Linked DNA regions of Homo sapiens: region 1 is linked to region 2. The links are contacts of gene promoters, found by promoter capture Hi-C in blood cells and fetal thymus (Javierre and others, 2016). All regions are on one chromosome and are shown on one strand. Each heading gives the region's core, a stretch centred on a gene start or on the middle of the fragment in contact. The rest is flanking DNA. Distances are from core to core; before and after follow the strand shown. Region 1 overlaps LAMA3 (laminin subunit alpha 3). Region 2 holds the start of LAMA3 (laminin subunit alpha 3).

The links. The method cuts DNA at HindIII sites, captures the fragments that hold promoters and counts their contacts. A CHiCAGO score of 5 or more calls a contact.
Region 1: a fragment that was not itself captured here is called in contact with the fragment with the promoter of LAMA3 in region 2 in 1 of 17 cell types (M1 macrophages); the score reaches 5.3 in M1 macrophages.

What each region holds. Positions count from the first base shown.
Region 1 is chr18:23,921,909-23,928,543 of GRCh38, forward strand. It overlaps LAMA3 (laminin subunit alpha 3), which reads left to right. Exons shown (of 75, transcript NM_198129.4): 63 at 6,215-6,332. Among named protein-coding and RNA genes, the nearest start is that of LINC02958, 57 kb to the right of the region's middle. The HindIII fragment of the contact is 3,473 bases long and covers 218-3,690 here.
Region 2 is chr18:23,685,277-23,691,100 of GRCh38, forward strand. It overlaps LAMA3 (laminin subunit alpha 3), which reads left to right and starts at 4,177. Exons shown (of 75, transcript NM_198129.4): 1 at 4,177-4,701. The coding sequence starts at 4,408. RefSeq lists an enhancer at 3,536-4,085. The HindIII fragment of the contact is 9,125 bases long and covers 513-5,824 here.

The DNA of each region.
Region 1 (6,635 bases), core at 704-3,203, 230 kb after region 2:
GCATAGGAGAGCGTGGGCCTCCCAAGGCCTGACAGACATCCCTGGGGAACTGAAAGCTGAGGTTGCCACCTTCAGGGAGCCTCTGGAAGAATGTGAAACAGTATGTCTCCTTCACTTCGGCATCAGCTGCTCCTTACATGCTATCGAGCGTGGAATTGTTACGTAACTGTTTCTTGGATGAGTGAACACATGAATTAATTAATGTGAAAGGCAGTAAAGCTTTATCTGAATGGGAAAAATCCCACCATTTTGGAATGCACGTAAAAATAACTTTTACATTTTGATCATTTGTATCCTCCCGGAAGGCTTTTAGATAGCTGACGATAGTGTGTGGACAGAACATATCCTGGAAGGATTAGTGCAGCCTCATGACTAAGTAAGAGTGCTCCCAGAAGGTTAGGTTATGATGACTTTTATATGAGATCTGAAGCTAGTTAACTCTTTTGCTAACTTATACATCAGTTGGAAGGAACTAGAATATGATTTATAAGGTGTCATGCCAAGGTATTCTTTCTTCTAGAGTCCTTATACATGTGGGCGTCTGTCCATTCTACGTAGTCAGGTACTAATCTTTGTTTTAAAGTTGTCAGGGTTGCCTCCAAAGGCAAAAATGCAAATGGGAAAGCTGGGCACTTCAACAGAACCTGGGGGTGACATCTTTACTCCCTGGGCTCTGGAAGGAGCCTTGCAGATCATGGTATGTAGCCCCTGAGTTTTACAAATGAAGAAATTCAGAGCCAGTGAGATTATATTAATATTTAATATTATCAATATCAAATAGCAATTCAGCCATGAATAGCCAGTTATGAATTGTCAGTAAGATTGATTTTATTTCCATGAAATGGAATAAAATAAAATCGTTTAAGGTAGTTTTTTCGAGTACTTTTGAGTATGTTTGAGAGTTGCCACTTATTCATTCATTACACAGGATTTATTGAGTGCCTAATGGGCATCAGGCAGAGTGACAGGTGCCAAGAAGGCAACAATGAGCAGGGTGGAGCCTGGAGAAGAACAGAAGAGAGACAGTCACTACAGGAGAACATGACGTGTGCCATAGGAGGAAGCTCAGGGTGCTGACAGAGCCCAGGAGGGAACCTAATCCAACTGGGGCCATCAGGAAAGTGACCTCCAGCTGGGACCTGAGAGATGCTAGCAGTCAGTGTATGTGAAGCACCAAAGCTGGATAGAGAAAGCATGAACTTGCAAAGAGCTAGAGTACAGCAGGAAGTGGGATAGGGATGCCCCATGGGGCTGATGTGGGCAGCAGGGGCCTGACCACAGAGTACCTTGAAAGTCACAGTAAGGAGCCATTGGAGGGACTTCAGCAGAGAAAGGCCATGACCAAATTTGGGTTTTCAGTAGCTCACTCTAGTGCAGGGCAGAGACTGGATTAGAGAAGAAAAGGGCAGAGGCAGGTAGAGTGGCTGGAGGCCGAGTATATTAACAGAGGTGAGTGATGAGGGTGACCTGGCCCAAGGAGTGGTTATGCAGGTGAGCAACAGGGATCAGATTCCAAATATATTTAGGATGGTGAATGGGCAGCACTGCACAATGGCTTGGGTTGGGGAATAAAGGGGAAAAGCAGTCAAGAATGATGCCTGGTTTTTGGCTAAGCCCTTGGCAGATGGAACACACCAACGGAGGAGTGGGGTGAGAAGTTAAGTCTGAGACAGGCTTAGTCCAGGAGCCTGAGACACAGCCAGGTGGAGAGGCCCACAAGCAGGCGCACAAAATGGCCTGGGCCTCCAGAAAGGAGGCCAGTCTGGAGAAGGGTAAATGAAGCTCAGGGCCAGGTAGTCATTGAGGTGGTAGAGGCCAGTGGGCTTACCCAGAGCCAGGAGGAATTCTCAAGTTGAGGCAATAAGGAACCCATTGGTGGTGGTTTGTGTTTGCATGATATTAACACAAGGCCCCTAGACAGTGATGTGGATGCCAGTCAGTCCAGGTTTTCTAGAAAAGAGCAGTAGGTAGAACCACAAAAGAGGTGGCTTTAGTTTTGGCTCAGCAAAACTTTAGGTTAATTCAGCACTCAACCTTTATTTGCCTTTTCATCTCCATCCATTAAAGAAATATATAGATATAGAGATGCATATACATAGAGAATTTGCTTTTTTAAAACAATTTTTTGTAGAGATGGGGTCTTGCTGTGTTGCCCAGGCTGGTCTCGAACTTCTAGCCTCAAGTGATCCTCCCACCCCCAGAATTCTGGGGTTACAGGCGTGAGCCACTGTGCCCAGTCCAGAATTTTCTTTCTTTTTTTGAGACAAGAGTCTTGCTCTGTCACCCAGGCTGGAGTTCAGTGGCGCCATCTTGGCTCATTGCAACCTCTGCCTCCTGGGCTCAAGTGATTCTCCTACCTTGGCCTCCTGAGTAGCTGGGATTACAGGCATGTGTCACCATGCCTGGCTAATTTTTTGTATTTTTAGCAGAGACGGGGTTCCCCATGTTGTCCAGGCTGGTCTTGAACTCCTGAGCTCAGGTAGTCCACCCACCTTGGCCTCCCAAAATGCTGTGATTACAGGCATGAGCCACCATGCCTGGCCTAGAATTTTCTTAGTAACTTATTTTGGGATCCTCCAAACAAGGGACTGCTTCCTTTTTCTGGGCAAGTTTTATACTTTGACCTTTTTTTTTCTTTTTTTTTTTTTTTTTTGAGACGAGGTGTTGCTCTTGTTGCCCAGGCTGGAATGCAATGGCATAATCTCGGCTTACTGCAACCTCCACCTCCCGGGTTCAAGCAATTCTCCTGCCTCAGCCTCCCGAGTAGCTGGGATTACAGTGCCTGCCACCATGCCCGGCTAATTTTGTGTTTTTAGTAGAGACGGGGTTTTGCCATGTTGGTCTGGCTGGTCTCGAACTCCTGACCTCAGGTGATCCACCTGCCTCTGCCTCCCAAAGTGTTAGGATTACAGGCATAAGCCACCATGCACAGCCTATATTTTGACTTTTTATTAAAATCACTGGAACATGGAAAATGCAGGAGATAGAGGCCAGTCAAAAGATTTCACTGGCCCTTCACTCCCTCTAAAGCAAAATTCTAAGGAATAGTCAGCTGTTCTGGGTGTTGCCTCATCCCTGTGGTGAAGTCTTTGGTGGCCCAGAGATTCCTGAAACTGCCATTGGGCATGAGTCACTGGGAGGTGGGGTGGGCACAGAGGAGTTCCATGGATAATCCACAGCCAAGCTCTGTAGGGGCAACCAGCCAACGCTTCCAGAGCAGGGAGGTGTTCTGGTCCCTGGCATAAATGGAGGGACCTTTTAGACAAAGTTCTCAAACCTAACCTGGAGCAAGGCAAGCAAGTGTAATCACTAAATCAGCTTTGCTCAAGGGATTTTGTGCACGTTTTGTTTCTTCCCCCTCTCACTGTAGTGTTTCTTCTGGGAATGGGGACCCAGATCTTGGAATGGCTTGTTTCCGATTATAATCAGAAATCATTCTGTTAATCCCATCTCCTACCCAGGAGAAGAGCAAATCATCCCTGGTAATGCCAGAGGGTGTGACACCAACAAGGGCATTTTTCTTGAGGACCTACACCATTGTTTACAGAGTGTGATTATACACACTAAAATGAAAATGATCCAAAAAGTAGATCTATTGAACATCGACTAAGTACCCAACACCAAGATTAGGGCTGCCTTTTGTTCTTTTTGCTCTCTGAAGTCGGCCTGCAACAGCCATGGAGCTGGCTAAGCTTTTGTGGACAGATTGGCCCAAAGTATACATAAATACCCCAACGCAGGAACCCACCAACACAACAACTCATGCCCCAGTGCAATCACATTCCTCTAGCAAGTATGTTCAGACCCTGTATCCTGGAGTAAATGTAGAACTGTAGGTCCTCAGGTAAGCCAAGGTAACAAGAATCCCCCCAGGAATAGTGGAAGTAAATCTCTTCCATTTTAACACTTCTGCTGTAGGTAACTCTTCTAGAAAAAGGCATGATCACTTCCAAGTGCTGCAGGAATACCAACTGTAAGTGTAAAAAGCAAGGGCTTCAAGCCTCACTAACCTGTGTGACACACTGACAGTACAGACCCCAGCTCTACCACTTACCAGCTGTGTGACCTTAGGCAAGGCCTTAACCTCTTAATGCCTCATTGCTACATCTATAGTATGGGCATAGTAGCTGCCTATCTCTTAGGGTGGTTGGAAGATTCAGAGTGTGTAAAGGAATTAGCAGAGGTCAGCACATGGTCAGTGCTCAATAAATGTTAGATAAGAAAACCTGCCCTTCCTGCACATGTATCCTAGAACTTAAAATAAAATAAAATAATATAAAAGAGAAAATACCTCCCTCAAAAGCTTATTGTAAGTTGGATTCATAGAGCTTCGTGCAAAATAGGTGGTCTGTATCTGTTAACTGCCTTTCTCTCCTACTATTTTCCTTTTCTGCAACCTTCTTTCTTTGACCAATAATCTATGGAGAGAGGGACATCTGGAATGTCGTTGTCCAAGAGATATGTTGAAACCCAAAGAAGAATTGACCTAAAACCATGTATAAATAGGCAAGCTCCAGGAATGGAAATGAACCCTCCTCCTCTTCTGAGGCAAAAGGCCATCTTTATAAAATAATTAGGCTTATACTGTAATGCCAGTGAGGATTTGTTTCTTTCTTTTCCTTTTAATGAAATTTAATTTTAGGTCTATTACAGGTAGCTCAACTGTTTCTAATGAATTGGATTAAAATGAATGCAGACACCTTTCCATTTAGAAAAGTAAGCTGCATTAGGGATTTAGAATGAAATCAGCTTTGGGTTTTCTTAGTACATCATTTGTTTAAGAAACACAAATATTTGCCTGGACTTCAGTTAGTTCATGTGTGTGAATGCTTTATGTGCATTCAGCTCCAGACAGATCCAGAAGTCAAATCGAAGGGGAAATGCCCTGGGGCCATGTAGAAAGAGCTGCTTTAGAAATTGCTCTCATTATATAAGAGCAGTAATATGGGAGTAGTTACTAACTTGACGATCTCACATTGAGTCCTTACTCTGTACAAAACACTGTTTGAGTGTGTTACACATATTAACTTTCTTAGACTATGACAGCCCTATGAAACAGATTCACATATTCCCATTGTCTAAATGAGGAAACAGGCACGGAGAAAAGTTGCCTGTTCAATCAGAAGGGACAGAACTTGAACCCAGGCAATTTGGCTGGTCCAGAGCAGCACAATTTTGCCTCTCAGAAACACCTGCTGAGCATTCACGTCCAGGTGCCATGCACTGCTGCAAGCTCTTGCTGTACGTTAACTTGTTTTTTTGGTTTTGTTTTTGTTTTTTGAGGCAGAGTCTCGCTTTGTTGCCAGGCTGGAGTACAGTGGCACGATCTCAGCTCACTGCAACCTCCGCCTCCCGGGTTCAGATGATTCTCCAACCTCAGCTCCCGGGTAGCTGGGACTACAGGTGCCTGCCACCACGTCCAGCTAATTTTTGTATTTTTAGTAGAGTTAAGTTTTCACAATGTTGACCAGCCTGATCTCGAACACCTGACCTCAAGTGATCCACCTGACTTGGCCTCCCAAAGTGCTGGGATTACAGGCATGAGCCACCCCACCCGGCCCGTTAATTTTTTAAATCCTGGCAATAACCCTTTGCCCACAGGTAGGAGGTGGTAGATACAGCAGCATATGAACCCAGACAATGTGTTCCATTGTTTCAGCTTGGCATTGGTTAAATCAAGCTACGTTTTTCATAATTGAATAGAACCAAAAAGTAACACTTTGTTTCTTCTGACTTTACAGTGGCTAACTTAACAGTGAACAGAAAAAAAAGAGCAAAAGGTTTTCTAGAGCACTCCTGGTTCCTACAAATGATTTATTACTTTATTAATATATATGTATATCATATATCATCTATTAACTTATTAATACATGTCCTATCCACCTGCAATGCCGTGACTCCAGCGGGGAGGGACGGGCAGTTCTAGATATTGTGCATGTTCTCTGTCTCTTTACCTTTTGCGGCCACTGGCCATTCTTCTGTTAACATTGTTGTCTGCATTTTTAAAGCTGGGAATGTAAACTTACACAGAAAGGAAGTCAGTTCTCCCAGCATCATAAAATAAGTAGCATTATGGGAATCCCATGGGAAAGGATAAACATAAAACACCTACTCATTTATGGGTGAAAAGTACTAAAGAGCACAGCGTTTCAGCTCTGATTTCACGTGAGCCTGACATGATCCATCTCTTCCTTTTATCTGTGTTCGTAATCAGATTTAACATTTCTACGCCTGCTTTCCGAGGCTGCATGAAAAATTTGAAGAAAACCAGTGGTGTCGTTAGATTGAATGATACTGTGGGAGTAACCAAAAAGTGCTCGGAAGACTGGAAGGTAAGTGAAAGTTCAGAACCTCGTGAAGGAGTGCTTCCCAGCCAACCCACCTTCCGTATCCATTAACGCAGCAACTTTTGACTTCTTTCTGATAGCACACAGTGTTACAGTGAACTGGCTCATATACACTCCCCATGTGCTTGCAAGATGCTGAACCTTTTCAGGTTTGCACATTAACTTTGTAGGAAAGTAGGAAGACCAACTATATACACAAAAACTTACAGATGATTGCTGACTTATTATGCAGAAAAGTAAGCTCTCTTTCTTTCTGAGGTTACATAAATCACATTAATCAGTTTGAGT
Region 2 (5,824 bases), core at 2,927-5,426:
CTGGAGTGCAGTGGTGGGATCTCTGCTCACCGCAAGCTCCGCCTCCCGGGTTCTGGCCATTCTCCTGCATCAGCCTCCCAAGTAGCTGGGACTACAGGCGCCTGCCACCACGCCTGGCTAATTTTTTGTATTTTTAGTAGAGACGGGGTTTCACCATGTTAGCCAGGATGGTCTAGATCTCCTGACCTCGTGATCCGCCCGCCTAGGCCTCCCAAAGCGCTGGGGTTACAGGCATGAGCCACAGCGCCCAGCCCTTTCTCGCTTTTTATCAATCTTCTTTCATCAATTTAGGTAGGACCATATCACTTAGGGCAGGACTATTAGAGTCAGTGCTGGGTACTCATTCAGTTGATTTAATAGAATATTTTGAAAGTTTTTATTAGGACAAAAGCAATATAGTTTCATTCTTGGAGAAATTAAAAAATATAAGCAAGCAAAAAGAAGAAAATAAACAAACAAACAAAAAATCCCCTCTCTCCATCCTATCTAGCCACTTGAATATCCTATTGTAAAGCTTTCAAAAATTCTGGCCAGGCGCAGTGGCTCATGCCTATAATCCCAGCATTTTGGGAGGTCAAGATGGATGGATTGCTGGACCTCAGGAGTTTGAGACTGGCCTGGGCAACATGGCAAAATCCCATCTCTACAAAAAAAAAAAAAAAAAAAAATAATAATAATAATAATAAAGAAAATTATCCAGGCATGGTGGCACATGCCTGTAGTCCCAGCTACTTGGGAGGCTGAGGTGAGAGGATCACTTGAGCACCACAGGTTGACACTGCTGTGAGCCATGATTATGCCACTGCACTCCAGCCTGGGAAACAGAGTGATACCTTGTCTCAAAAAAAAAAAATTATTTGTCTGCTTTCACACACACGCATACACACACACACACACATTCATATACAGTTCTTTTTTTTTTTTTTGAGACGGAGTTTCGCTCTTGTCACCCAGGCTGAAGTGCAGTGGTGCGATCTCAGCTCACTGCAACCTCTGCCTCCCGGGTTCAAGCGATTCTCCTGCCTCAGCCTCCCCAGTAGCTGAGATTACAGTCATGTGCCACCATGCTCGACTAATTTTTGTAGTTTTAGCAGAGACAGGGTTTCACCATGTTCGCCAGGCTGGTCTCGAACTCCTGACCTCTGGTGATTCACCCGCCTCACCTCCCAAAGTGTTGGGATTACAGGCGTAAGCCCCCACACCTGGCCACATTTCTTATGTTTAGTAGATATTTCAGTTCTGCAAAAATCCATAATAACAGCTTTAAGATATAATTTATATACCATAAATTCATAAAGTGCACCATTCAGTGGTTTTAGTATATTCACACAATTGGTGATGTGATAGTGGTGATGCATAGCGTGATGGTTATCATCACCACTATCTAATTCCAGAACATTTTTATCACTCCAAAAAGAAACCCCATAGCCAATAGCAGTCACTCCCCATACAATATGTGGTCTTTTTTGTCTGACTTCTTTCACCTACCATAACGTTTTCAAGGTTCTTCCATGTTGTAAGCATGGATCAGAACTTCATTTCTTTTTATGTGTGACAGATATTCCATTGTATGGATATACTACATTTTGTCTATCCATTCATCAGTTGGGGAACATTAGGTTGTATTCATTTTTTTATTATATGACTAACGCTGCTATAAACATTTATGTACAAGTTTTTGTGTGGATATATATTTTCAGTTCTCTTGAGTATGTTCTTAGGATTGGAATTGCCAGATCACATGGTCATGTTATGTTTAAGTTTTTGAGGAATTGCCAAAGTGTCTGCACCATTTTACATTCCCATCAGTAATCTGTGAGGGTTCCAACTTCTCCACATCCTCACAAATACTTGTTATTATCTATCTTTTTGATTATAACTATCCCAGTGTGTGTGAAGTAGTATCTCATTGTGGTTTTGGTTTGCATTTTCCTGATGGCTAATGATGTTGAGCGTCTTCCATGGTCATGCTTATCGACCATTTTTATATTTGCCCACTACTTTTTAAAAAATGGTTGAGTTGTAAGAGTTTATTCTGGATATGAATTTCTAATTAGATATATGGTTTGCAAATATTTTCTTCTATCTTGCGGATTGTCTTCTACTTTCTTTTTTTTTTTTTTTTTGAGATGGATTCTCAGTTTCCCAGGCTAGAGTGCAGTGGCACAATCTCAGCTCACTGCAACTTCTGCCTCCTGGGTTCAAGTGATTCTCCTGCCTCGGCCTCCCTAGTAGCTGGGATTTCAGGTGTGCACCACCATGCCCAGCTAATTTTTGTATTTTTAGTAGAAAATTTCATCATGTTGGCCAGGCTGGTCTTGAACTCCTAACCTCAGGCGATCAACCCATCTTGGCCTCCCAAAGTGCTGGGATTACAGGCATGAGCCACTGTGCCTGGCCATCTTTCGCTTTCTTGAGGGTGCCTTGGAAGCACAAAAGTTTTAAAATTTGGTAAGTTTCAATTTATCTTTGTGTGTGTGTGTGTGTGTGTTTTGAGACAGATTTTTGCTCTGTTGCCCAGGTTGGAGTGTAGTGCCATGATCTTGGCTCACTGCAACCTCCGCTTCCCGGGTTCAAGTGATTCTCCTGCCTTGGCCTCTGGAGTAGCTGGGATTACAGGCACATGCCACCATGCCTGGCTAAGTTTTGTATTTTTAGTAGATACAGGGTTTCACCATTTTCCCCAGGCTAGTCTTGAACTCCTGACCTCAGGTGATCCACCCACCTCGGCCTCCCAAAGTACTAGGATTACAGGCATGAGCCACCGTGCCCGGCCCAATTTATATTTTTCTTTTGTTGCTTGCGCTTTTGATATCATAGCTAAGACAGCATTGCTAATCCAAAGTCATGAAGATTTTCTCCTGTGTTTTTCCCTTAGAATTTTATAGTTTTAGCTTTATAGTTTAGCTCTCTAAATGTAAAATTTAGAGATCTTAAATCCATTTTGAGTTAATTTTTGCATATAGTATGAGGTGGGGATCCTACTAGATTATTTTGGGATGTCCAGTTTTCCCAGCAGCGTTTATTAAAAATATTATTCTTTTCCCATTGAATAGTCTTGGCACCCTGTTGAAAATCCAGTGACCATAAATGTAACGGTTTATTTCTGAGCTCTCAATTCTATTCCATTGATCTATGTTTATCGTTATGTCGGTACTACACTGTCTTGATTACTGTAGTTTTGTATTAAGTTTTAAAACTAGGAAGCGTGAGTCCACTGACTTCATTCTTTCTCAGAATCGTTTTGGATTTTCTAGGTCTCTTGCATTTCCACATGAATTTTAGGATCAGCTTGTCAATTTCTGAAAAAAAAAAAAGTCGGGATTTTGATCCCTATCAAAATCCATTGTGTTGAATTGTAGGTTGCTTTAGGAAATATTGCCATCTTCACAATATTGTCTCCTAATCCATGAACATGGGAGGCTTTTCCACTCATTTAGGTCTTTTAACATTTCTTTCAAAGAGGTTTTGCAATTTTTATTGTACAAATATTGCATTCCTCTAATTTCTTCGAGGGCCTATGTGGGTTCTGTTTTAGTAGGGTGTTCTGCATATAAGACCAAGCATCAGTCCGGGGTCGTGGGGGGAGGGGGTCTTCTCTGTTCTGAGGCCATCATGGCAGGTGGCGTACCTCACTCAATCTCTGTTAGCTTATTTGTAAAATTGAGCAGATTAGGCATCTAAAGGATTTCCTCTAAGGTTCCTTTCCAGGTTGGCAAATTACAACTTGCATTATTGGCTGTCTTTTAAATATGTACGTTCCACCACTCCCAGTTCCCTGGCTCAGCCTGTGGCTGCAGTGCCACAGGGATCCTAGGTGCACAGTGTTGAGGAGTTGACGACTCAACACTTGGCTGGGAAATCGAAATGTCTTTGATGTGAGTTCTGTAGGTAGTGGCAGTTTCCTCTGCTCTCAACCAAATTCGTTTACAAGCCTCCTTTACTCTTAGGTCACAGGTGGCTTTTCTGGCTTTGACCTGAGCGGTGAGTATCCAGAGAGGAGAACGATCTAATTAATTTCTGTCCTGGCGCCTGGAGGGTTCGAAGATCCCAGGCTCCCGTTCCCGCCGCCTGGGTGGGAGCCCGGGAACGCCTCTCCCATTCCCCGCCCGCGAAGTTTGCAGCGCGCCTCGCGCGGGAGAGACGCCGTCTGCTGGCGCGCGGCTGAGCGCTGTCAGTTCCTGATCCGGCTGGTGCCCGCTCCAGCCGCGGCAGGTTCCAGAGCTGAGAGGCCACCCCCACGCCGCGGGCTTCCAGCGCGTGGAGCAAGGGGAGCGGCCCCGGCGCCGCCCATATCCCCGGCTGCGCTAGTCCTGGCGCTGCAGGTCCGGGAGGCGCAGGCGGAGAGCGGCGGTGCCCCCGAGCCCCTCTGCGGACGGCTCAGGCGGGAGGACCCCGCGCGGCTGGATGGCGGCGGCCGCGCGGCCTCGGGGTCGGGCACTGGGGCCAGTACTGCCGCCGACGCCGCTGCTCCTGCTGGTACTGCGGGTGCTGCCAGCCTGCGGGGCGACCGCTCGGGATCCCGGGGCCGCGGCCGGGCTCAGCCTTCACCCGACTTACTTCAACCTGGCCGAGGCGGCGAGGATTTGGGCCACCGCCACCTGCGGGGAGAGGGGACCCGGCGAGGGGAGGCCCCAGCCCGAGCTCTACTGCAAGTTGGTCGGGGGCCCCACCGCCCCAGGCAGCGGCCACACCATCCAGGTGAGGGCCTCGGAGAGAGCCGGGGTGGGCGCGCCTTTTCCTTCCCGCGCCGGCCAGACACCCGGAGAAGGGATCGGGCCCTTTCCTCACGCGCGCTAGTGGCTCCGGGCGACTGGGAAGGGCAGCCCCCATCCCCGCGCGCGAGGGCCCACGACCCAGGAGCGATCTCGTGGAAGCACCGCACCGGCACCACCGGCCCGAGGCGAGGAGGGGGAGCACGCGAGGTGACATGAGGCTGTGGTCAGGTTCGGGCTGGTGGAGGGGAAAGTGTGAGGCTGCGCTCTAAGAGATGCAGGCGCCTCGGCCCTTCCCGCCTCCGTCACCCACGGAGCGTCCCGCCAGGCTTGAGTCCTCGAGGGTTCAGGGGCGCCTCCTGCCCCACCTCCCGGGCCTTATTCGGAGAAGTCGGTGGCAATTACCTTCTGTGGTGTATTTTAAGAGAGAATTTTTAGGTTATAACAGCGGTATCACTCTAATGTTACTGAAAAGATTCACTTCACTGCACTGCCTGAAGTGCCACCATCCAGTCATTGGGGGCGAATGAGACCTTAGGCGGACAGAGATAGAAAGGCTCTCAGAGATCCGAGCCTCACCGCGAACACCCGGGGCAAACGACATTGCGGTGCATGTTAAGCAGCATCTTGCAGTGCCTGGCCCTTACTCACAGGTCTCAGCCAGGCAAGAGTGCAGTGGTGCGATCACGGCTCACGGCAGCCTCGAACTCCTGGGCTCAAGGGATCCTCCCGCCTCAGCCTTGGGCGTAGCTGGGACTACAGGCGTGCCCCCCCGTGCCTGGCAATTTTTTTTTTTTTTTTTTGAGACAGAGTCTCGCACTGTCGCCGGGGCTGAAATGCAATGGTGCGATCTCGGCTCACTGCAACCTCAGGCCTGGCAATTATTTATTTATTTATTTATTTATTTATTTATTTATTTATTTATTTATTTTTCTGTAGAGACAGAGTCTGGCTATTTTGCCCAAGCTGGTCTCAAACTCTTAGCCTCAAGCTGTCCTTCTGTCTTGACCTCCCAAAGGGGCAGGAGAATTTGAATCCAGTCCTGACTTCAAATCCTGGACACTAAGCCCAAATTGCCTCCTTCTTCTGCAAAGTATTGTTGAGGAACA